Linked DNA regions of Homo sapiens: region 1 is linked to region 2. Evidence: promoter capture Hi-C in human tissues and cell types (Jung and others, 2019). All regions are on one chromosome and are shown on one strand. Each heading gives the region's core, a stretch centred on a gene start or on the middle of the fragment in contact. The rest is flanking DNA. Distances are from core to core; before and after follow the strand shown. Region 1 overlaps EPB41L1 (erythrocyte membrane protein band 4.1 like 1). Region 2 holds the start of GSS (glutathione synthetase).

The links. Contacts are between HindIII fragments. The study calls those that stand out against the background at their distance.
Region 1: a contact is called between a fragment that was not itself captured here and the fragment with the promoter of GSS in region 2, in 1 of the 25 tissues and cell types used here (mesenchymal stem cells).

What each region holds. Positions count from the first base shown.
Region 1 is chr20:36,158,841-36,165,169 of GRCh38, forward strand. The region is part of intron 1 of EPB41L1 (erythrocyte membrane protein band 4.1 like 1); the gene reads left to right. Among named protein-coding and RNA genes, the nearest start is that of EPB41L1-AS1, 6.2 kb to the left of the region's middle. The HindIII fragment of the contact is 5,943 bases long and covers 1,479-6,329 here.
Region 2 is chr20:34,953,109-34,959,846 of GRCh38, forward strand. It overlaps GSS (glutathione synthetase), which reads right to left and starts at 2,698. Exons shown (of 13, transcript NM_000178.4): 1 at 2,619-2,698. It overlaps MYH7B (myosin heavy chain 7B), which reads left to right and starts at 2,760. Exons shown (of 45, transcript NM_020884.7): 1 at 2,760-2,899; 2 at 4,990-5,104. RefSeq lists enhancers at 2,506-2,605, 2,846-3,025. The HindIII fragment of the contact is 12,827 bases long and covers 1-6,738 here.

The DNA.
Region 1 (6,329 bases), core at 3,200-5,699, 1.2 Mb after region 2:
CTGTCTCTCTTAAATGTCAGGCCAAGGTGTTTCGACTTGACGTGAGCCGGGATGCTCTAGGAATCTTTGCAGGATTTTAGTCTGCTGAGGAGCATGACAGAACTGTGTTTTGGGAAGGTCCTTTTGGCAACCGTATGATCCACAGGAGAGGGTGGACGTGATCTTACAGGAGAAACCTTAACTGTGGGGACTTGGAGGGCTGGGGAGGGATCAAGATTGGCACTCATTAAGGTGTCCCTCTGGTAGTGGGTGGTTCGCCAGGTTGGAGAAGGAGGAGCTTGGAGTGGGTAAGGCCACAGGGTCAGGAATTCTGTTTCAGGCCTGGTGAGTTTGAGAAGGGCTGGTCTCCCTTTAGTCATCTGGAAGATTGGGTAGCATCTTTTTTGCACATCTGGCCTGTTTTTCCTTTGAATTATTTCTTTTGAATAAATCCCCATCAGAGCTTCCTCTATAATAGCAGTAAATTGGGACTAAGTGTCCAACAATAGGAAGATGATTGGGAAAGCTTTGGAACATCCACTGGATAAAATAATACGCAGTGGTGAACACCCACAGAAAAACTGCTTGCAGTGGATGGAGCTGTGCAATTGCAAAGCTCTTTTGCATCCTTGATTCATTTTGTGCTTATGACTGCTCTGCGACAGAGGTGGGGCCGGGGCTAGATCCTTTCTGTGTTTGAAGAGAATGACGCTAGACTCCAGTCTCCTTGAAGGCAGAGTTGAGTTCACATTTTATTCATTGTTTCGTCGCAGCATGTTGCTCAGTGGTTTGCAAATACTTGTCCGATGAAAGAATGAGTGAACTAATCAAGAGGGGAAGTGACTTGATCAAGGTCACTCAAGTTGTAAGACATAGTGCCTGCCATATTCTTGCTATTCCCTACTTGCCACATTCTTCTCACTAACCACTCACTATCTTCGAGGGGAATAGGACAGAGAGGTTCCCAGTGAGGACCTGGCACTTGCATAGAACAGGGTTTAAGTCTTCTTTCTGTTTTTACTAGCTGTGAGGCAATTGGCAAGTTAATTAATCTTTCAAAGCCCCAGTTTGCCCAGCTGTAATGTGGATAGTCCAAGTACCTGGTTTTAGGGTTGTCATCAAGATTGAATAAGTTAAGGCATGTAAACATCTTGGCATGGTAACTAGTACATAGTGAAGTATCCATGAACATTAGTGGAGATGATGATGATGTCATGATGTGATGTCATTAATGGTCTGATACAATTAATGTTAAATGGGAAAGAAGACCCATAAGATTATCAGTATTCATATTACAATGGTATAAAATTAGGTATGAACATAGATACAGATTGGAAGAAAACAGGTAGAAAATGGAGTTCCAGCAAGCATATGGGAAGTGAATAAAACAGAAAAACAAATATTTCTTTACTGTTATATTTACTTTTCTTTAGTTTTAATTACAAAAAAAATTTGTGGAAAATCTAATAATTCAGAAGTGTAGGCCAGGCACGGTGGCTCATGCCTATAATCCCAGCACTCTGGGAGGCTGAGGCGGGTAGATCACCTGAGGTCAGGAGTTCAAGACCAGCCTGGCCAACATGGTGAAACCCCATTTCTACTAAAAATACAAAAAGTTAGCCGGGCATGGTGGCTGGCGCCTGTAATCCCAGCTACTCAGGAGGCTGAGGCAAGAGAATCTCTTGCACCCGGAAGGCAGAGGTTGTGGGGCAGTGAGCCGAGATTGCGCCATTGCACTCCAGCCTGGGTGACAGAGCGAGACTCCGTCACAAAAAAAAAAAAGAAAGAAAGAAAGAAAAAAAGTGTATTCTCCCCTTAGATCCCCAAACAAATCCTACTCTCCAGTCGTAGCTAATAACAGCATGTTGTGTATCCTTCCAGGATATTTTCTATACCAACATAAACATACAAACCAGAATGGGATCATACATTGCATTATTGTTTTACAACTTGCATTTTTCATGTAACTACACATTGACATCTTTTTATGTCAGTAGATATAAAATCTATCTCAAAAATTTTTGCAATAGGTATGTTATACTTTCATAATTAAATTTTTAATGGATAAACCCTACTAATTTGGCCAGCCCCCCTGTTGATTGACATTTGAAGTTGTTTCCAATTTTACGGTATTCTAAGTAACGCTAACTGAACTCTAACAGTATTTAGACAATTAGTGAAAATCAAGTGAGAGAAGGAGTCAGAAACCATGAGACCGTGAGAGTTGCCCTCAAAGGTCTGCTGCTTCTCCCTTCTCCTGTTCCCTCCTCTCCTCACTGGAGCCTGGGGGAACTGGTCTTGGAGGAGGCCATCTCTCTGTCACCCTCAAAAGGTGGTGATGTCCCAGGGAAAGACCCTTTCTTTCACCCACCCAGTATGGAGCTCTCCTAGGAAATTTTCAAATTCTCTTAGGATGCTCTAAGCTGCTGCTTGGGCTGTGCAGCTGCCCACACCCAGACTGTCCTTGGACAAGCTTTCTACCTTCTCTGTACCTCAGTTTGTCCATCTGTCTGGTGGTGATCAGAGCCATTGCTGCCACTGAGTGTCTTCTATATGTCAAATACTGTGCTAGAGCAAGCTTCATGTGCATTATCTGTTTTTCTATTTTTTCTTTTTATTTTATTCTTCTTATTTTTTTGTTTGTTTGTTTTTTGGGTTTTTTTGTTTTGTTTTTGAGATGGAGTCTTGCTGTGTTGCCCAGGCTGGAGTGCAGTGGCAGGATCTCAGCTCACTGCAACCTCCGCCTCCCCGGTTCAAGCAATTCTCCTGCCTTGGCCTCCCAAGTAGCTGGGATTACAGGCACGTGCCACCTGCCTGGCTAGTTCTTGTATTTTTAGTAGAGACAGGTTATCACTGTGTTGGCCAGGCTGGTCTCGAACTCCTGACCTCAGGTGATCTGCCTGCCTCAGCCTCCCAAAGTGCTGGGATTACAGGCCCAGTCGTTATTCTTGTTTTTTTAAAGACAGCCTGTCACTCTGTCACCCAGGCTGGAGTGCAGTGGCATAGTCACAGCTCACTGTGACCTCAAACTCCCAGGCTCTAGTGATCCTCCTGCCTCAGCCTCCTGAGTAGCTGGGACTACAGGTGCACCCCACCATGCCCGGCTAATTTGGGGGGGGCACAGGGTAAAGACAGTGTCTCGCTCTGTTGCCCAGACTGCTCTCAAACTCCTGGGCTCAAGCAATCCTCCCTCCTTGGCCTTCCAAAGTGCTGAGATTACAGGCGTGAGCCACCACACCCTGCCTATCTCATTTAATTCTCACTATACACCTTGGAGGTGCAGGGGATAGTCTTCTCAATAGAGGTTAAGTAACCTGCCCAAGGTCACCAAGCCTGTGGCATCAGGATTCCAGCTCTGGCTCATAAGCCCATGTCTGTAACTGCTGTTTCCTGCCCACTCTCAACAGTGGCTAATTGGTGAGGTCCAAGCAAAATGATTATAAAAAGATCCTTTAAGTTGTAAAGTGCCCTGCATGTGGGAGGGATTGATACTGCCGTTATTATTTCTACATCCAGAGCAACAGTAGCTTTGGTTATATGGCTTACAGCAAGTTGGAGGTCGTGGGATGTAGCAGCATTGAGTGGGGAGAGCACTGGACTGTGAGCCAGCAGACTTGAGTCCTAGTCCTGGCTCTCCTTGAAACTGACTAGCCATGTGGCCTTGGCCACTAAGCCGCCTGGGAAATAAGCTCACCTACTCCGTGTGGCCCTTGTGCAGCTCAAATAAGATAAAGCCCAAAAGACAGCCAGCATGTTGCCCAGCTCTCGGAGGATACCCTGCTAACGGGAGGTCTCTCTCTGCCTTCTGCATCGTCATCAGGATGGGCCAGGTGGGACGCATGTCTCCGTTTTAATGCTGTTACTCTGCAGTTCTGTGCTGTCACGTGGTCCCCAGCCCACCACTGCACATCAGCCTGAGGCTCCCTAGTGGCCCGTGAAGCTTTTGGGCAAGAAGCCAAGGCTGATGGGTGGTGGCCTTTTCACATTGTTTGGTCTAAAGTGGTGTCCGTGGGTACTGCAAACCTCTGACGAATTGCCGTCTCCCCACTGCCATGTACAAATCCAAGCACCAGACAGGATGACTGCAGACTCAGCTCCCTTTTTGATCCTTCTTGCCTGGCTGTGAAAGTGGCTTGAGGTCTCAGAGGCAGCTCTCTCAGCCTGTACCCTCCATCCTTTCATTCACGTCCATGTAGACATTATCACTCAGGGAAGTGAGTGTTCCATACTGGGGAAGTCCCCTTGGGAAGGAAGTCACATCATCTCCAGCAAGTGAGAGAAAGAATAAGCCCTAATAGGCACTCTTTCTGTTTTTTTTTTTTTTTCTTGTAATTCTTCTTTTTTCTTTTCTGACTCCGAAAGTAATACATGCTCATAGTAGAAAATTGAAAAATACGGAGAAAAAGGCCCCTATTTCCTTCTCCAAGGGAAGGCTATTGTTAACATTTTAGTCTTTGGACTTAATTGGAGAGTAATATTTCTGGAGCAAATATTTCTAATATTCTGGTATGTGTTTAGTGTTTTACAGGCATGATCTGATTCCATTTTCACAGTAAGCCTGTGAGGTATGTAAGTTTATCATCATGACTTTACAGATGAAGAAACTGAGGCACAAAGAGGTTAAGGGGCTTCCTGACGGTTCCCTTGCCTTCCTTGACTTCTTAGCTTATTCTGCCTCTTCTCAGGCTCCCCTTATCCTAAGTGAGCATCAGGTGGTGGATCAGTCAGATTCTGACAGGAAACAGAATTCCACTCAGATGCTTCACCTGAGGAGATGTTAATAAAGATGTGAGCAGGGTGAGGGGAACCCACATGGGATGGTGAGGCACCCACAAACTAACAGTGACAGAAGGCATTACTAGCTCTCGGCCTGAATGAGCAGGAGGGAGTGGTGTTACCTGAGTTCCGTGACTGGTAGAGGTGGGCAGGGAGCTGTCGCAGAGGGGCTCAGCCACCACCAGGACCACAGAGAGAGAAATTGGGGAAGATACACCCAGGATCTCTCTCCTTCCACCTTCTGAATTCCTGCCAGTGCCTTCTTCTTTATTATTTTTTTTTTAAGACAGAGTCTCTGTCGTCCAGGCTAGAGTGCAGTAGCATGATCTTGGCTCACTGCAACTTCCACCTCCCAGGTCTGCCTCAGCCTCCCTAGTAGCTGGGACTACAGGCGCCTGCCACCACACCCAGTTAATTTTTATATTTTTAGTAGAGACAGGGTTTCACCTTGTTGGCCAGGCTGGTCTCAAACTCCTGACCCCAAGTCATCCACCCACCTTGGCCTCCCAAAATGCTGGGATTGCAGGCGTGAGCCACTGTGCCCGGCCCCTGCCAGTGTCTTCTATTGGCCAAATGGAACCAGAAACCAGGAGGCAAGGGAGCTCAAGGGACAGTCCAATGGGCCAGCCTCCTGCTTCTTCAAGCAGGTCATGGATCTGGGGGTGCACATGGAGACTAACAACCCAAGCGACATGGTTGTAGGGAGATGGGAGAGACATGTCCTCTGACTTCCCAGAAAGAGTTGTCTTAGTAACTGACTATTAAAAACATCATTCAAAACAAGAGACTTTTTTTCTGCCTGGGAGTCTCTTGGTGTTTTGGTGTCTCCTCCCTCCCCTGCCCCCCATCTCCTCTCTCACCTGGTTCAGAATTTCCAAGAACACCTGGGCAACAGTCTTTGGTGTCATCGGTGTGCAGGGTTTAGAAGAGACAACCTTGCTTGCATGATACATGTGGCTGTGTGTGTTCTCATGTTGTTTCACTGCTGTGCCTATGCATACAAAGACATGCTTCTTGTGTACATGTCATAAGCATCTATAACATAGTCTCCTCTGTATCCAGCAGAATATTCACTTTTTATTTATTTATTTATCTAATTTTATTTTTTTGAGATGGAGTCTTGCTCTGTCTCCAGGCTGGAGTTCAGTGGCATGATCTCGGCTCATTTCAACCTCTGCTGCCGAGGTTCAAGCAATTCTCCTGTCTCAGGCTCCCGAGTAGCTGGGACTACAGGAGCCTGCCACCATGCCCGGCTAATTTTTGTATTTTTAGTAGAGATAGGGTTTCACGATATTGGTTAGGCTGGTCTCGAACTCCTGACCTCAGGTGATCCACCCGCCTCACCCTCCCAAAATGCTGGGATTACAGGTGTGAGCCACTGCGCCTGGCTATTTATTTATTTTTGAGACAGAATCTCGTTCTGTCACCCAGGCTGGAGTGCAGTGGTGCGATCTGAGCTCACTACAACCTCTGCCTCCCAGTTTCAAGCAATTCTTCTGCCTCAGCCTCCCAGGTAGCTGGGATTACAGGCACGCACCACCACACTTGGCTAATTTTTGTATTTTTTCTAGGAA
Region 2 (6,738 bases), core at 1,448-3,947:
CCCTGATACTCATTCATTTTTCAGCAGGCCTCAGGAGTTTAAGATCTGGGTAAAAATCTGGAAACACAGTCACTAATTTTGTTCTGCCCTGTTGCCATTTAACAGAACATGGTTGCCCAACTCAGTGGTCCCCAGGAAGGGAGTTAGAGAATAATAGGAAACCTCCATCACATTCAGCTCTGTCCCCCTGTCCCCATGACAGAGCCAGTGCCAGGCCAATTATGAAAGTCTGCCAGCCTCAGCACAATGCTTTGAAAGAATGCGCATGTGATCTCAAGAGGGTCCTGATAATATCCCTGTTGAGTGAGACATACATGAGGGCAATCATAGTAAAGAACAAGGTTCAAGTCAGACAGACAGACAGACCTGGGTTTGAGTCCATAATAATACGACTTCTCCCTTTCCCTTCTTTCCTTCCTTCCTTTTCCCTTTCCCTTTCCCTTCCCTCCTTCTTTCCTTCCTTCCTTCCTTCTTTTTCTTTCTTTCTCTCTCTCTCCCTCCCTCTTTCTTTCTTTTTTTTTTTTTTTGACGGAGTCTGGCTCTGTCGCCCAGGCTGGAGTGCAGCCGCACGATCTCGGCTCACTGCAAGCTCCGCCTCCTGGGTTCATGCCATTCTCCTGCCTCAGCCTCCCGAGTAGCTGGGACTACAGGCACCTGCCACCATGCCCGGCTAATTTTTTGTATTTTTAGTAGAGACGGGGTTTCACCGTGTTAGCCAGGATGGTCTCGATCTCGTGATCCCCCACTCTCGGCCTCCCAAAGTGCTGGGATTACAGGCGTGAGCCACCCCGCCCAGCCGACTTCCCTTTCAAGTAAGATTGCTGTGTGGATTAAAAGAGAAAAATCAGTGTGAAATTTATCAGCAGTGTTTGAAGCTCTATACATGAGACCATTTTTTGGCTGTACTCTCTTTATAGGTAGGAGGAGACTTGTCAGAGGTCACACAGAAGCCTAGTGGCAGAGCCAGGACAAGAACCCATTACCTTGACATTAGAGTAATGAAACCCTCCATGAGCCCCCATCGTTCCACAACTCTGAAATTCCAACATCTGTTTGCTGTTGGGCTTTTATTTAGTTGGCAAACACTGATTTGCATTTAATGCCACTCCCTTGACTAGGTACTGGGGATATGGAGGAGGATAAGACATAAAGATAATCACCATGGGCCAGGTGTGGTGGCTCACTCGTGTAATCCCAGCACTTTGTGAGGCCGAGGCAGGCGGATCACCCGAGGTCGGGAGTTCGAGACCAGCCTCACCAACATGGAGAAACCCCATCTCTACTAAAAATACAAAATTAGCCGGGCCTGGTGGCGCATGCCTGTAATCCGAGCTACTTGGGAGGCTGAGGCAGGAGAATAGCTTGAACCCAGGAGGTGGAGGTTGTAGTGAGCCGAGATCGTGCCATTGCACTCCAGCCTGGGCAACAAGAGCAAAGCTCTGTCAAAAAAAAAAAAAAAGAAAAAAAGAAAGAAAGAAAAGAAATCAGATGAAGGTGCTAAGTGGGCCCTTTGTTTTTCTCATTCTACAGCCTCAACCCTCCCTTGGCTTTATTTATGTTTTGCTGATGACATTCAAATCTACATCTTCACAGCAATACTTTCCTACCTTCAAACTAGAATATCCAATTTTTTCCTGCGAGTCTCCATACAACCAGAATAGAATTTGTTGTTGTCTCCCACAAATCTGCTTCTTCTCTGATGAACCCCACCCAGGTACCCAAGCCTTGAGTACTTGTTTCCTACATCTCACTCTCCCCAAATCCTATGGATTTTGCTGCCTAAGTATATAGTACTTTGAATTCCTTTATTTATCTCCATTTCCAGAGTTTGTAGCCTAGCCCCGGCCACTGTCATCTCTTCCCTGGGCGTGAAACAGATTCAGAGTCAGGTGTCTTCAGTGACCAGGATATGTTGGCCTCTGTCCCCCTTCCAGGACTTGGCACGTGCTGTCTTCTCTTTGGAACTCTCGCCACCACTCCTGATCTGGGCTCGCGATTTCGTTCCGGAAGCTGTCCCTGTTCTCCGCCCCGGGCTTCTACATTCTACAGCCCATCACTTTTCCCTGTACCGTAGGAACAGTGTTTGTCTTGATCACTTCTCTACCTAGTAATTAGCCGCGCTTAGTACTGTATTCATTCATCACATGAATGAATGAAGAATGAATGACAGACGGGTCAGATCACCGAAAGCCTCAAAACGCCCACAAGGAAATCGGTCGCACTTTATCGCCAGGACTTAGGCCAGTGCCTGGAAAGGCCCCGAGGCAACGACACGGTCGGCTGCCCAGGCTGGCCCCACTTCACGGGCCCGCTCGCTTCCACCCTGGACAAAGTTTGGCCCTAATCGCTCCCCGTTGTAGCTCTAACTGGCTCCAGTCTCACTGGCCTACATGCCCCGACACCGGCCCGATCTAAAGGCAGAAGATCCGGAAAGTCTGGGATCAGTGCGCGCCAGCCCAACCCCCTCACTAGACACTAGTTGCCCCGCTCCTACGAAGGGTTTCAGCCACAAGGTCTCCCGGCCTCCGGAATTCCAATCTCTTGCCAGACCCCTCCCTCACATCGTTCCTCCCGAGGAAACGTGACCCATGCCGGCCGCCGTGGCCGCCCCAACCTACTAGTTCGCCTTTCCTCCGCGAACGGTTCTCCCGGCCCTCGCGCCGCTACCCAGGCTCAGGGGGCGGGGCCTCGATGCGACCCAGTGCGCTTGCGCTGACCGCCCCGGCTAGGCTTAAAGAGCAGGCGGGGCAGAGACCCATACCTTTGGCGCTGAGTCGAGGCCAGGAAGGGGCGGTCGATGAGAGGGCGGCCTTAGCATTAGGAGTGCGTCGGCTGCACCCTGGCGGATGGACCTTGGGAAGGAGGGGAGGGGACCATCGGGGTCGGCGGGGAGCTACGGGTATGCATAGCTCATAGAGCGTCAGAGCTGACGACGACTAGTGGAAGATGGGGAAACTAATGCTCAGAGCGGGACAGTCACTACCTCAGGGGCACACAATTGATAAGGGTGGGGGTGGCCGTGGTAATGGAGGCCCCAAGGAGGGGCAGGGGCCCATAGTACGTCAGGGGCTGAGCCTGTATTAGAACCCAGGCTTGTTTCCCAGCCCAGCCAAGTCCCAGAAAAATCCCCCTGATTTTATCTATTTTTTTTTAACCTGGGATACCAGCAGGGAAAGCATTAGAGGCAAAAGGAAAGGATTTTCATTTTTCCAGGAATGCTGAAGTCAGGACTGTTTGAGGGGAGCCCTGTGTTTCTCAGACTCTCTTGTACCGTTTACATCAGGATCTGGGGCAGTTTTTAAAAATATGCGGATTCATGATTCCTACCCCCCACCTCATTGCTTGGCAGCCCCCAGGTGCCTTCCCTGTTTCTTCCTTCTGGGTTGTGATAGGCTTGTCTGCAGTCCGAAGCACCTGATACGAATTTTAGTTAAATGGAATGTATCAGTCCAGCTTCTAGGGAATTAACCATAAATAAGACACAGCCACTGCTTTCAGTCTGATAAGATAGGCAATAAACTGCCTTTCTGAAGGAATCAGGGATGGTTTTTGGGGTCTTGAAGGATGGATAGGAAGGTATAGGTAGTGAAGGAGGTAGGGGTAGAGGTGAGAGGCTGGGATGGGGACAGTGTTCCAAATTGCAGGAACAAAAGCAGCAAAGGCTGGCTGGGTGCAGTGGCTCAGACCTGTAATCCCAGCACTTTGAGAGGCCGAGGCAGGTGGATTACTTGAGCTCAGGAGTTGGAGACCAGGCTGGGCAACATGGCGAAACCCCGTCTCTACTAGAAATACAAGAATTAGCCGGGTGTGTTGGCCCGTGCCTGTAATCCCAGCTACTCGGGAGGCTGCGGCGTGAGAATTCTTGAGCCCCGGAGACGGAGGCTGCTGTGAGCTGAGATCACGCTGCAGCACTCCTGCCTGGGTGACAGCGTGAGACCCTGTCCTAAAAACAAAACAAACGAGCAGCGAAGGCATATAATTCTGAGGGTTGCTCGGCTTGTTTTACAGACACTGAGGAGTTTGGTGTGGATAATGAGGAAGGGCCTGAGGGTTGCAACAGGACTTAGGCGCTTAGGCTTGGAGAGGTAGCCTCAGACGCCAGTTCCACTGAGCAACAGGAGCTAAGGGCTTTAAGCAGGGGAAGGACATGGTTAGTTTTGTGTGTTAGGCACTGGTTACAGCGTGACAAATGGTTTGGAAGTGGGGAGATGGGCCAGAGAAAGCAGAGAGAGTTAAGATGTGAGATCATGAGGCTGTAGCCAGTGCAGCAGCTGTGGAGATGGAGCGAAGCGAACAGATCAAAGAAATTTAGGAGTGAGAACTCCTAGTGATCGTAAATCAGTGGCCCAACCCAGGGACCAAGATCCTTTTGACTCTTTTTTTTTTTTTTTTTTTTTGAGACGGAGTTTTCGTTGTTGTTGCCCAGGCTGGAGTGCAGTGGCACGATCTCAGCTCACTGCAACCTCCACTTCCCAGGTTCAAGCAATTCTCCTGCCTCAGCCTCCCAAGTAGCTGGGATTACAGGCGTCCACCACCACACCCGGCTAATTTTTGTATTTTTGGTAGAGACAGGGTTTCACCATGTTGGCCAGATTGGTCTGAAACTCTTGAGCTCAGGTGATCCACCCGCCCCAGCCTCCCAGAGTGCTAGGATTACAGGCGTTAGCCACTGCGCCCGGCCCCTTTTGACTCTTTAAATAAACCATGTACATTATCTGACTACAGGACAGGCTGAGTCCTCCAGTCTCCCGTGTGTGGTCACGGGATGGGGGGAGATGGTGGCAGATAGGTGTCTGGTTATTCCCAGAACAATGTTTCCTGATGTCCTTTCCTCGTTGGCTTTTGTACCTGAGGGGATAAGCAGCTGTTAACTAGAATAGGCCCCAGGTGGCAGGAAGAGGCTCCTGGGTCAACCAGGAACAAAAGAAGCTATTTCTAGTGCAGCATGAAATTAAAAATCAAAAGCATGACCCAGGGTTCTCTGTGCAGGTTCCCCTCTTCCAAGACGGGTGCCAAGTGATGAGTATCAGGTGTCTATGGTGAGATTTGGGGAGGATCCCAGACCTTAACAGCCCTTTGGTTGAAACCTCTCACAATGTGGCAGGTAAGATGTCTTTATTCCCATTTTGTAGATGTGGCAGCTGAGCCTCAGAAGTTACGTGACTTGTTCAAGGTGACCCAGTTTGTGGTAGGACTGGGAGTGAAGGACTCTTGACTAAGAATCTTTCCAGGGAGCGTTTGCCCTTTCTGCACTCTCTGCCTGGGTGCTTTCCTCCAAAATCCTGGCATGACTGGCTCCTTTGGTCATTCAGATGTTTCATCCCTGGAGGCTGCCCCACCCTATAAGTCTATCACGTTATCCTTTTCTTTTTTTTGAGATGGAGTCTCACTCTGTTGCCCAGGCTGGAGTGCAGTGGTGCGATCTTGGCTCACTGCAACCTCTGTCTCCTGGGTTCAAACAATTCTCCTGCCTCAGTCTCCTGAGTAGCTGGGATTACAGGCACGTGCCACCATGCCCGGCTAATTTTTGTATTTTTAGGAGAGACAGGGTTTCACCATGTTGATCAGGCTGGTCTCAAACTCCTGACCTTGTGATCCGTCCGCCTCTGCCTCTCAAAGTGCTGGGATTACAGGCGTGAGCCACCGTGCCCGGCCTTGTATTTTCTTCATAGCAGTTATTCATATCTGAAATTGTTGCTTTTATTTGTTTGCTGTTTCCCTCTGCTAGAATGTGAGCCCCATGAAAATGGGCCATGTCTGTCTTGTTCACCACTTTACCCCCAGGACCTGACTGGTGCCTGCCACGTGGCAGATGCTCAATAATATTTGCTAACTGATGGAAATAGTTTGGGGAGAGAGAAAGAGAAGGAAACCAACATTTAATGAAAGCTGAGGATGTTTCAAGTACTTCTCACAAATTACCTCATTTAATCCCTTCACAGCCTTTCAAGGTAGAAATCGTATCTCCATTGGGTGAATAAGAAACCATGCTAAGTCAGGTCAAGTCTGTGGTTTGTTACTTTTGAGGCTATAGACTCGTCTGAGATCCATTAGTATAAAATTTTGCATCAGCTACGTGGAGGAATTCACAGACCTTCTCAGGCTCACTTGGGGATCTCAGATCAAGACACATAGGATTGGGGAACTTGCCCAGGGTCTTTTTGGCCCCAGGCCTTTGCTGGATCCTCACTCCCTGGCAAGGATGGAGTCCATGTAGTGGACTGTAGGGAACCTGCTGAAGATTCCGGAGCAGAGGGAGATGATTTGCCCTGAGCCTCTGGTGTCTCAGACCTGAGTTTGAATCCTGACTGTGCAGAAGTCATCTCACCTCTCCGAATCCCACTTTCCTCATTTTATTTTTTTTCTTTCTTTCTTTTTTTTTTTTTTGAGATGGAGTCTCTCTCTGTCACCCAGGCTGGAGTGCAGTGGCACGATCTTGGCTCACTGCAACCTCTGCCTCCCGGGTTCAGGCAATTCTCCTGCCTCAGTCTCCCGAGTAGCTGGGATTACAGGCACATGCCACCATGCCCAGCTAATTTTTTGTATTTTTAGTGGAGACAGGGTTTCACCTTGCTGTCCAGGCTGGTCTCGAACTCCTGACCTCGTGATCTGCCTGCCTCAGCCTCCCAAAGTGCTGGGATTACAGGTGTGAGCCACCGCGCCTGGCTTTCCTCACTTTCAAAGTGAAATCTGTTTTTTCCTAACAATAACTACCCTTTATTGATCTGGTCGCTAAGT